Regions from separate parts of the Homo sapiens genome. Here regions 1 and 2 are each linked to region 3. Evidence: promoter capture Hi-C in 16 types of primary human blood cells and fetal thymus (Javierre and others, 2016). All regions are on one chromosome and are shown on one strand. The core of a region is centred on a gene start or on the middle of the fragment in contact, and the rest is flanking DNA. Distances in the headings are between cores, read along the strand shown.

What was found. The method cuts DNA at HindIII sites, captures the fragments that hold promoters and counts their contacts. A CHiCAGO score of 5 or more calls a contact.
Region 1: a fragment that was not itself captured here is called in contact with the fragment with the promoter of DCTN2 in region 3 in 9 of 17 cell types (erythroblasts, M2 macrophages, M0 macrophages and 6 more); the score reaches 8.2 in erythroblasts.
Region 2: a contact is called between a fragment that was not itself captured here and the fragment with the promoter of DCTN2 in region 3, in 1 of 17 cell types (M2 macrophages). The highest score is 5.9, in M2 macrophages.

The regions. Positions count from the first base shown.
Region 1 is chr12:57,626,817-57,630,890 of GRCh38, forward strand. It overlaps B4GALNT1 (beta-1,4-N-acetyl-galactosaminyltransferase 1), which reads right to left. Exons shown (of 11, transcript NM_001478.5): 5 at 3,662-3,702; 6 at 3,336-3,516; 7 at 2,232-2,330; 8 at 1,897-2,087; 9 at 1,306-1,446; 10 at 802-1,042; 11 at 1-145. Among named protein-coding and RNA genes, the nearest start is that of B4GALNT1, 4.3 kb to the right of the region's middle. The HindIII fragment of the contact is 2,137 bases long and covers 1,748-3,884 here.
Region 2 is chr12:57,645,508-57,649,381 of GRCh38, forward strand. No RefSeq gene overlaps it. Among named protein-coding and RNA genes, the nearest start is that of B4GALNT1, 14 kb to the left of the region's middle. The HindIII fragment of the contact is 2,383 bases long and covers 342-2,724 here.
Region 3 is chr12:57,544,967-57,548,863 of GRCh38, forward strand. It overlaps DCTN2 (dynactin subunit 2), which reads right to left and starts at 2,226. Exons shown (of 14, transcript NM_001261413.2): 1 at 2,062-2,226; 2 at 1,062-1,130. The coding sequence starts at 2,097. RefSeq lists an enhancer at 2,355-2,494. The HindIII fragment of the contact is 9,827 bases long and covers 1-3,897 here.

The DNA of each region.
Region 1 (4,074 bases), core at 1,566-4,065, 82 kb after region 3:
AGTGATCCTGGGTAACGGTACCGGGCGTAAGTCTCTGCTCCGGCATCCCTTGATGTCCAAGGCAGCTTCAGTTTGGATGCATGATCCACCACGACGTCGGAGCAGGAGCCAACCCGAAGGGAACCAAGCCCATCCAAGAAGAATTCTGGGGGTGGAGGGGAGTACACAGTGAGGGATCCTGAGGGTGCAGAAGGCCGACTGGTAAGGGAGAACTCTCAAATTTAGGGTGTGGAAAGTGTGTGTGCAAAGGCTTGTTTCTAAGGACCCTGAGCATGTAAATCAACTCCCTGGGTCTCAGTCTTACTCTTGTGTAAATGGAGTCAATATACTTGTGCTTTGAAAATCGAAAAACCTACCCCTACTCCCAGAGGTTAAATAAACGCCAGATGGGTTGCACCGACTGTGGTCTGAACTAGGGGAAGCCCTGGGAGTAGAGCAGGGGTGGCGGGAACAGTGATGGGGAAGCTTATGGGGGCCCAGCGGCTGTGCTGGGAATGGAGATTCAACATGGCACATGTATACACATGTAACAAACCTGCACGTTGTGCACATGTACCCTAGAACTTAAAGTATAACAAAAAATATATATATTTATAAAAAAAAAAAAAGAGTATGCGGGGCTGGGAGAGGGTGGGAGCTGTCTCTCGCCCAGGTGCAGGTCTTGGTAAATCACTGCAGAACTGTTCTGGGGTTCCCGCTGGCGGCTGGGCGCGGGTGCAGCCTAGGAGGAGAGGCGCGTGACCGTGCGCCAGCTCCCCGTGGGGCTCCTGCCAGGGTCGACCGGGAGGGGGTGCCACTCACCCAGATGAGCCACGCGGCTGAGGCGGGGGTCGAAACCGACCTCGCGCACCTTGTCAGTCCGCGCCAGGAAGAAGTTAACCACGCCGTCGGTGACCACGCAGCCTGGGAAGCCGACGAGCTCGTGGTGGAAGCCGCGCCTTTGCCGGAGGCAGTTCCCGAGGCCTGGGGCGCCGGGCTCCACGCTCAGCAGCTGCCGATAAGTGGTGGCAAAGCCGGAGATCTCGCGCACCGCGCCCCCCACCTGCAGGGAGAGGGAGGTTGCCTCCAGGCGGGCCTGGGATAGGGGACCCGAAGGGGTCAAGGTCTGCGCTCCGGTGCCTTCGGGGGTACCCCTGCCCCATCCTCTTCCGCTTCACCCCTGCAGGACCCAGACAGTTCCCAGGCCCCACTTCGTGGTTCTCTCTTTGTCCTAGGGCTGGCCGTTCCTGGCCGCAGCGCCCCCGCTGTGGCCTTAGCCTGTTCAAGGCCCTTCTCCACCCCCACATCCTGCAGCCCCTGCCCTACCAGGTCCAGCGGCGTCCGCTCCAGCACGTCCACAAGCCTCTCCAGCCGCGTCCGCGCCGTGAAGACGAAGTCGTCGTCCACCCACAGCACGTACTTGGTGGTTACTTGAGACACGGCCAGGTTCCGGCCTGCGAACCAGCCCTGGCAGAAAGGTGTGTGTGGTTGGGGAGGCTGCAGAAATAGGACATGGCCCTCTGCCACCTTTCTTTCTCTCCCCCGACCCTTCTCAGCTTGTATTCTTCTCCAGACTTTTGAGTGCTTTCGAAAGGCCAGGAGCTAGGTAAAAGAAATGCAGATCCCCACAGAGGTTCCAAGTCAGTGGTCTTAGAATGCGTTTAATTTCCGTGTGCATTTATTTATTCATTCATCAGCTATTTTATTGAATGCCATTAGGCACTAAGCACCATTCTAAGAATTCAGAGAGAATTTCCTGCTCCCACGAAGCTTACATTCCAGGAATCCTCATGCTTAACAGGCACCCCATGATTCTGAGGCAGGTGGTCCTCGAATCACTACCCTGGAGGCTGCAGATTGAGGGCACACCCCCTGCGGGAGTCCTCTGGCCTGCCGTTCAGCCTGCTAGCTGCACACCTTGCCGAAGGGCATGAGATAGTGTTCCACGTAGGGGCCACTAACGCGCTCTGGCTTGTCGCTGTCGTCAGCGATGACCACGGTAACCGTTGGGTAGAAGCGGCGGATACTGGTGATGAGAGCCCGTAGCCGATCATAACGGAGGAAGGTCTTGGTGGCAATCGTGACTAGAGCGCTGATGTTGTACTGGGCTGAGATTGGGGGCACAGGGTTGGGTGCAGACAAGGAGGGTTGGGAGAGGGGAACAGGTAGATATCCCCTCCCAGGACTGCCCTCTCCCAACTTGCTCCCCACCAAGGCTGGTTCTAATATGTCCCTGCCCCTACCAGCCTCACCTCCCTGGGGTAGAGACCCAGGTGGGTACAGCCGAGGGTTGGGCGGGTGTCTTATGCGGATAGTGAAAGCAGCCTCATGTCCCTCGGTGGAGAACCGGACTGGGAAGAAAGGACATGGCATTTGACCCTGAAGGGTGGGATAACATTCTGTTTTCAGCCAATCAATATTTAAGTGCCTACTCTGTGTCCCACCTTTCTAGGCCTTGGTGGACAAGAACAGAAGGTTCTTACCTTTATGGAACTTACATTCTAATGGGTAGGAGAAAAAACAACAAAGAAAATTTTAAGTAAAAGCTAATCTTTATTGAGCACTTACTATGTGCCAGACCCGTTAAAAAATTACCTTAAATATATGCACTCATTTTATCCCCATGATAGCCCTATTAAGTAGATTCCTACAACAGAAAAAAAAGCTGAGACACAGAAAAGTAACTTGCCACATTTACACAACTATTAAGCAACAAAACTGATAGCAACCTAGTCAGTCTGGTGCCAGGCTAAGTAAATTAAAAAATTCAGATACTGGTAAGTATTGAGTGGAAAATAAGACAAACAAGTAATGTGATAGTGAAGAGGAGGCATTTGAACTGAGATCTAAATGACAAGAAGAAGCCAGTCTGCAAAAATCTGGGGAAGAGCATTCCAGGCTGAGAAAATAGAAAGTGCAAAGGCCCTAAGGTGGAAGCAAACTTAGTGCAACAAACCAGCTTTGGGGAGAAGCAAAGAGGGCTTTTAGGCCTCTTTTGCTGGAAGAGAAATGGGATCTCAGGAAAGTAAAGACCTTTGCCCTCTAGTAAGGGGTGGGTTGGGAATATAGTCTTCTAACTCCTTAGACAAGTCTCTTCCTGGGGCCCCCCACAGTTGGCCTAAAGGGGAGACACACCCAAGGCTCGGGTTTCCCTCTGGCCTGCTCCAGCCCCAGATGAACAAAGGCCCCCTTTCTCCCTCTGGCCCTGCTGGTCCAGTTGAAGCACCCATTGTGTGGCTGGACAGCTCTGGCCATAGCCCAGATGCCTCCCATGCCCTCTGCCATTTGCCCACTCCAGCCTTTCTGGTTCTTCTCTGTTTGCCCAGCCTGCCCGTCTCTCCACCCAGGCCTTGCACCTGTGTCTGCTGTGTTGGTCTGGTAGCTTCGGCTGCTGTAAGTGACCAGTTGTAGTTGCCTGTTGAGTTGGTCCAGCCCTGGGCTGACAAGGGTGAGATCTGCCTGACCCTCTCCAGTGAGAGTAACTCCAGTCACTTCCCCTGCCACGTCCCAGGTGCCTAGGGAGGCAGTCAGGTTCACCTAGGAGGGGATTGGAGAGTGCAGGGTTAGGCCCCAGACCCACTTCTTGCCTCCCTGATTCGCCCATCCTTCCCTTAGTAGCCCTGCCTCCCTCCCAGCATTCTTGATGCCTACTTGGCCTCCTTGCCTTCTTGTTTTCTCTCACCTGGTATACCTCCTGACCAGAAGCTGCCTGAAGGCTCAGCCCTAGGAGAAAGGAGTGGGGGGATCAGAATCACATAGGCAGCCCTGAATTCTTTCTCATTTTCTCTCCCTGCTGTCACCACACACAATAGAGAACTTTCCACCTATTCTTCTTATTGAGGCCTCAGCAGGGCACACTGTATAACATAGCCTACAGTGACTGATTTTTGAGCCCGTCCCGTCAAAGCTTGCCCTATGGCCTGCCCTGACCACCACCTAACCAATGGTTAGTCAGCAAAGAATAGATTATTTCCCCCAAAACTCCCCAGTTACAGTCTTCTGAAATTCCTAGAGTCCCTTCTGTCCTCACTTCCCACCTCCTAAGCCGCCGTTTGAGCTTAAGTCCCCCATTCATCAGAGGTTCCCACCTCCCAT
Region 2 (3,874 bases), core at 283-2,782, 100 kb after region 3:
AGCTATTCAGGAGGCTGAGGCAGAAGAATTGCTTGAACCCAGGAGGCAGAGGTTGCAGTGAGCCAAGATCATGTCCCTACACTCCAACCTGGGTGACAGAGTGAGACACTGTCTCAAAAACAAACAAACAAAAAACAATTAAAATAAAATAATTAGGTAATTGTAATTGGATACATACTTATAGACAAACTTGTCATAATTTAGAATCTAAATTATATTAAATTACATAATAGATATTTCATTATTTGGGTATTTTCCAATAAAAATATATTTGTAAGAAAACATTCTTTTTAAAAAAGTGTGTCCTTTTAAAAAATGTGAACACTTTTCATCTAATTCAAAGCTTATTTAAAGGTCATGTGTAAAACAAGGTAAAAGGAACCATGAAATAAGAGAAATGTAAAATAAGTTATAAAAATGAAGAGTTTTTTTATTGGTAAGAAAGCTGAAAAAGAAATAATTTCATATGAGAAAGAATCTTGTATGGTAAATTTAGTCCTGGAGTAAAGTAAATAACTGGTTGTTTAAAAAAGAAGGGTGTTCAGGCCAAACCAGAAAGTCCAAGCATGTCGTGAATGGTCTAAGTCACACAGAGAGGATTTATTTTAAAAAACTTTTTTTTTTTTTTCTTTTTTGAGATGGAGTTTTGCTCTTGTTGCCTAGGCTGGAGTGCAATGGCACAATCGCAGCTCACTGCAACCTTTGCCTCCCGGTTCAAGCGATTCTCCTGTCTCAGCCTCCCGAGTAGCTGGGATTACAGGCATGCGCCACCATGCCCAGTTAATTTTGTATTTTTAGTAGAGATGGGGTTTCTCCATATTGGTCAGGCTGGTCTTGAACTGACCTCGGATGATCTGCCTGACTTTGCCTCCCAAAGTGTTGTGATTACAGGTGTGAGCCACTGCACCCAGCCTAAAAAAAAACTTTTACATGATCAAGTTATCATATTATTATTAAGTTTTGGTTTGCTGAGGGCAGGAGCCAAGATGGCTGAATAGGAACAGCTCCAGTCTACAGCTCCCAGCGTGACTGACGCAGAAGACGGGTGATTTCTGCATTTCCATCTGAGGTACTGGGTTCATCTCACTAGGGAGTGCCAGACAGTGGGTGCAGGCCAGTGGGTGCGCGAGCCAAAGCAGAGCGAGGCATTGCCTCACCTGGGAAGCGCAAGGGGTCAAGGAGTTCCCTTTCTGAGTCAAAGAAAGGGGTGACGGATGCACCTGGAAAATCGGGTCACTCCCACCCGAATATTGCGCTTTTCAGACCGGCTTAAAAAATGGCGCACCACGAGACTATATCCCACACCTGGCTCAGAGGGTCCTATGCCCACGGAATCTCGCTGATTGCTAGCACAGCAGTCTGAGATCAAACTGCAAGGCGGCAGCGAGGCTGGGGGAGGGGCGCCCGCCATTGCCCAGGCTTGCTTAGGTAAACAAAGCAGCCAGGAAGCTCGAACTGGGTGGAGCCCACCACAACTCAAGGAGGCCTGCCTGCCTCTGTAGGCTCCACCTCTGGGGGCAGGGCACAGACAAACAAAAAGACAGCAGTAACCTCTGCAGACTTAAATGTCCCTGTCTGACAGCTTTGAAGGGAGCAGTGGTTCTCCCAGCACGCAGCTGGAGATCTGAGAACCAGCAGACTGCCTTTTCAAGTGGGTCCCTGACCCTTGACACCCGAGCAGCCTAACTGGAAGGCACCCCCCAGCAGGGGCACACTGACACCTCACACGGCAGGGTATTCCAACAGACCTGCAGCTGAGGGTCCTGTCTGTTAGAAGGAAAACTAACAAACAGAAAGGACATCCACACCAAAAACCCATCTGTACATCACCATCATCAAAGACCAAAAGTAGATAAAACCACAAAGATGGGGAAAAAACAGAACAGAAAAACTGGAAGCTCTAAAAATCAGAGTGCCTCTCCTCCTCCAAAGGAACGCAGCTCCTCACCAGCAATGGAACAAACCTGGATGGAGAATGACTTTGACGAGCTGAGAGAAGAAGGCTTCAGACGATCAAATTACTCTGAGCTACGGGAGGACATTCAAACCAAAGGCAAAGAAGTTGAAAACTTTGAAAAAAATTTAGAAGAATGTATAACTAGAATAACCAATACAGAGAAGTGCTTAAAGGAGCTGATGGAGCTGAAAACCAAGGCTCGAGAACTACGTGAAGAATGCAGAAGCCTCAGGAGCCGATGCAATCAACTGGAAGAAAGGGTGTCAGCAATGGAAGATGAAATGAATGAAATGAAGCGAGAAGGGAAGTTTAGAGAAAAAAGAATAAAAAGAAATGAGGAAAGCCTCCAAGAAATATGGGACTATGTGAAAAGACCAAATCTACGTCTGATTGGTGTACCTGAAAGTGATGTGGAGAATGGAACCAAGTTGGAAAACACTCTGCAGGATATTATCCAGGAGAACTTCCCCAATCTAGCAAGGCAGGCCAACGTTCAGATTCAGGAAATACAGAGAACGCCACAAAGATACTCCTCGAGAAGAGCAACTCCAAGACACATAATTGTCAGATTCACCAAAGTTGAAATGAAGGAAAAGATGTTAAGGGCAGCCAGAGAGAAAGGTCAGGTTACCCTCAAAGGGAAGCCCATCAGACTAACAGCGGATCTCTTGGCAGAAACCCTACAAGCCAGAAGAGAGTGGGGGCCAATATTCAACATTCTTAAAGAAAAGAATTTTCAACCCAGAATTTCATATCCAGCCAAGCTAAGCTTCATAAGTGAAGGAGAAATAAAATACTTTACAGACAAGCAAATGCTGAGAGATTTTGTGACCACCAGACCTGCCCTAAAAGAGCTCCTGAAGGAAGCGCTAAACATGGAAAGGAACAACCAGTACCAGCCGCTGCAAAATCATGCCAAAATGTAAAGACCATCGAGACTAGGAAGAAACTGCATCAACTAATGAGCAAAATCACCAGCTAACATCATAATGACAGGATCAAATTCACACATAACAATATTAACTTTAAATGTAAATGGACTAAATGCTCCAATTAAAAGACACAGACTGGCAAACTGGATAAAGAGTCAAGACCCATCAGTGTACTGTATTCAGGAAACCCATCTCACGTGCAGAGACACACATAGGCTCAAAATAAAAGGATGGAGGAAGATCTACCAAGCAAATGGAAAACAAAAAAAGGCAGGGGTTGCAATCCTAGTCTCTGATAAAACAGACTTTCAACCAACAAAGATCAAAAGAGACAAAGAAGGCCATTACATAATGGTAAAGGGATCAATTCAACAAGAAGAGCTAACTATCCTAAATATATATGCACCCAATACAGGAGCACCCAGATTCATAAAGCAAGTCCTGAGTGACCTACAAAGAGACTTAGACTCCCACACAATAATAATGGGAGACTTTAACACCCCACTGTCAACATTAGACAGATCAACGAGACAGAAAGTCAACAAGGATACCCAGGAATTGAACTCAGCTCTGCACCAAGTGGACCTAATAGACATCTACAGAACTCTCCACCCCAAATCAACAGAATATACATTTTTTTCAGCACCACACCACACCTATTCCAAAATTGACCACATACTTGGAAGTAAAGCTCTCCTCAGCAAATGTAAAATAACAGAAATTATAACAAACTATCTCTCAGACCACAGTGCAATCAAACTAGAACTCAGGATTAAGAATCTCACTCAAAGCTGCTCAACTACATGGAAACTGAACAACCTGCTCCTGAATGACTACTGGGTACATAACGAAATGAAGGCAGAAATAAAGATGTTCTTTGAAACCAACGGGAACAAAGACACAACATACCAGAATCTCTGGGACACATTCAAAGCAGTGTGTAGAGGGAAATTTATAGCACTAAATGCCCACAAGAGAAAGCAGG
Region 3 (3,897 bases), core at 976-3,475:
AGAAGGTGTTTCCCACAATGTAAGAACCACTTCCACATGGGGGAGTCAAATAAGAAATAAGTGAGTACGCCAAGCCACACATTGTAAGCCAGCAGTCAGCATTCCCCAGAATTAACCAGCCCCACAGACATAGCCACAGGACTTACAGACAAGCATACTGAGCCTGCATATTGCAATGACTCTTGGACACATCTTTACTGAGAACTCACATCATCAATGTGATCCCAGCCCAGCTGTCTTCAGAAATAATAGAACCTAAAACACATCCTATAAACACACCTCTTGGCACTTAAACAGAGTTTTTACTATGTTGATTTCCATTCACTCAATTTTTTTTTCCTTCTATATGTTTCCTATATGTATCCTAATTCCCCATTAGTCTGGGGCTCATTGGGGGCAGAGACATTTCTTCCTCTGCATTGCACAAAAAAAACCACAGAATGAACACACTCAATAAACCATACTAAATGTTTCCCCTCACAGTTAAAATGTATCCGTACCTAATTACTCCATCCTCAGAATTCTCGGATCTAAAAATGCAACCACAGTCTCACATCCGCTGATGTGAAATATTTACATTCTTCCTCAAATTTGTTTTGCTCTAAAATCTTGGAATCACTTTCTTAATTCCTTGCCCAATGGATACTGGATATTCATATGGAAAAAGTATTTCTCCATATTTCAAAGTCTAGTTCTTGGTAGCAGTTTATTACAAGTGCCCAGGCTTCATGATTCATTTCCATGGGTTAGAACCCAGGGGCCTAAGTCACTAGCTCCAAACCTGTTTTGAGATATTTCAATTTTATTTAAAAGGCCCAAGAATCAGGGCTTTGCAAACAGATGTTGTTAGCTGTAATTCCGCTGACTTGACTCTCCCTCCTGCCATTGCTCATTGGTGGCTGCAAGCCCAGCAAGGTCTTTGCAAGCCCTGCAACCTATATACCACCCAGGCTGGGGTTGGCATACCCGCTTATTGCTGTAGCTCCCCCGAGAAAGGGAAGGACCTGTCTAGGGGAGAAAGGTCAGAGTCCGGAGGAGTCTGTGGCAGCACACATTCTTACCGCATCGAACTCCGCTTGATCATCCTCAGGTAGGTCGCTAGTTTCATAAACATCTGGCTCATTCCTGGCCTGCAGGTAGAAGCAGTGACCACCCAACCTCACTACCCAGCATCCAACAACACCCCTTCCCCCACTCCATTTGAATAAGCTAACAGAGAAGGCGGGGTGTGATGTCAGGGTTCTGTCCTTTCTCCTCCACCTGCCCCGTGAGTCAACAGTATGTCAGTTCCCATGTCTCAAGGGGTAGGGATGACAGCGGAAACAATTGGGACCTGACAGTAAACGGTGAGTGTAAGTGATAGCAACGATGTTACCCTAAATCTAGAGGCGGGCAGGTCCTTGGCAATCACTATTGCCAAAGAAGGTGAAGGCTATCCTCCAATTAGGCCCCGTACACCACCACCCTGGCACAAGGATTGAGAGTGACTCAGGACCTTAGTACTCAAGGTCCTGTGTCCCAACCCTCACCTTGAGAAGCAGGCAGGGCAGCACAAAAGGAAGGTACACGCCAGGATTGTCATGGGAGTGGGGGCTGGGGGAGGGCATAGGTTCCCTCAAGGATAGAGCTCCCCATCTGGCACAAGAGGGTTCTGCCAGATGGCAGAACCTCTTCCTTGGCAGGATGAAGGCCATCGTTAAGTGGTCTGGTGTGTGTGTCTGGGGTAGCGATGGGGTCTTATGGAGAGATTTGGGGGGGACATGGGAGGCGTTGACACGGATGGTGGAAAAACTCAGGCACAAGAGGTCAGTACCCGGAGTCGATTTCTGGGCCGAGCTACCGGCGACTGCCGGAAAGGGGGCCTGGTGCGCCGTCCGGCGGCCCGGCCCAGTCGGGTCAGAAGAGTTCGGGGGGTGCTGAGGCCGATCGGAGAACGAGCGGCGGGAGCCCTTGGGCGGAGGATGGGCTGCAGGCGGGAGGGGTCGCGGGCTGGTTTCTGCTGGGGGTCCTTGGGAGGTCGGGGGCGCGGTCCTGGGGAGCCGGGGCCGGTCCTGTACTCACAATGCCGGGAAGGTCGGCGTATTTAGGGTCCGCCATGGCGGCGGCGAGACGGGCTGGGGGACCCGGGCCTCGGTGGAGCCGGGGCCGGTGTTCGGGTAGGGGAGAGGCTGGGTTCGGGTCCCGGGCTAAGGCGGCGGCAAAGGGAGCGGCAGATGAGCAGGAAGTCTCGCGACAGCAGTAGCACAGCAGAAGGGTAAAGCAAAAGTCGCGAGAACAGCCCTGCTGCCACACCCCTGGAGAGGCCGGGATTGGGGAGAACGAGGCCAGGGAATGAGGTAATGGCCAGGGGACGCCGCCTAGGATTGTGGGATGTGTAGTTTTGGTGTACTGGAGCTTGGGCGGGGAGCGACAATAACGAACCTTGGGGAGCTATTTCATACAGCCTTTTCTCTCACTTTTACAGCAAGTCAGTGAAAGAACATTTATAATTCCTGTTTGGGGCTCCCAGGAATAAAATGACTAGATTAAATGATACAGGTAGTCATACTGTGACACAGCCGGGGTTTCAAAAACAAGAAGTTTGCTTGATACTGTGTATTATAAAAACAAAATAAAAACAAGAAGTAAAATTTAGTAAACGCGTAGTGTATGTTAGGAATGAAAAAGTTAGGCAATCTTCTCAAGTAAGGGCTTTCAGATAATTTGAATTTCAGATAATAAGTAGGTGTGTGTGTGTGGTGTGTGGTGTGTGGGTATACTAACCCCCCAAAAATTAAGTATCTGAAATTCACATTTAACTGGGCATCCTGTTTTTGTTTTTTGTTTTTCAAATCTGGCAATTCTATCTGAAGTTCATAAGTAGGTAAGTGGTGTCTCCATGTCTGTCTGAACACTCTCTGGGCTCTTAACTACTTCGTTAATAGTTCTCAGACTTTTATTTATTTTTCAATTTTTTCAATTTTGTGGGTACACAGTAGGTGTATGTATTTATGGGACACATGAGATATTTTGATACAGGCATGCAATGTGAAATAAGCACATCATGGAGAAGAGGGTATCCATCCTCTCAAGCATTTATCCTTTAAGTTACAAATAATCCAATTACTCTTTAAGTTATTTTAAAATGTACAGTTGAGTTATTCTTGACTATAGTCACCCTATTGTGCCATCAAATAGTAGGTCTTATTATACTTTCTAATTTTTTGTACCTATTCACCAACCTTACCTTCCGTTCTCAGACTTTTAAATTTCATCGTTCAATAAAATTAAAACAACTACAAACCTTGAAGATTTGCCTTTTTATTTTATCAAGTAAGTATATTACAAATAGAAAACCTATTATTTACTGTCACCATCATTACTTGGTAGAAAAGCAAGAAGGACACACTCAGAATAAAAGATAGTCCTTTGAAACTTATCAAATCCATCTTTATATTAAAAAAAAACTCACCATTGTTCTTTTGGAGGTGAGGGCATACTCAGTGAACTTTTGTCTCTGACCAGTGACCCTCCATGGACTGGCATTTTGAAACCCCTTTACTAAAGATGCCACCTTGGAGCCCCTGGGGACCCAAGGATGGGATGTTTCCCAGGATGTTTCCTGAGCTTGCAGGATGCTGCAACACTTAGAAATTGTGCCAAACCAAGTGACTAGAGAGTTCCTGAGTTCGGAACTCGTTGTCTTTCTTTCTCCTGGCTCCTCCCCAAGCCTCTATCCCTTTCTCCATAGTCCTACAGCTTTCCTGTCCCATTCCTTATGTTGGACTCTTTTCTTTCAGTTCCCTTAAGATTCAAGGTAGGTTAGAGGTGTAGCCCCAATGTGGGAAACCCCCTGAGTTCTGAATAGTTAGGTCTTGTCTGGCCAGGCTATCAGCCTCTTACTTTTGTCCCATAGTG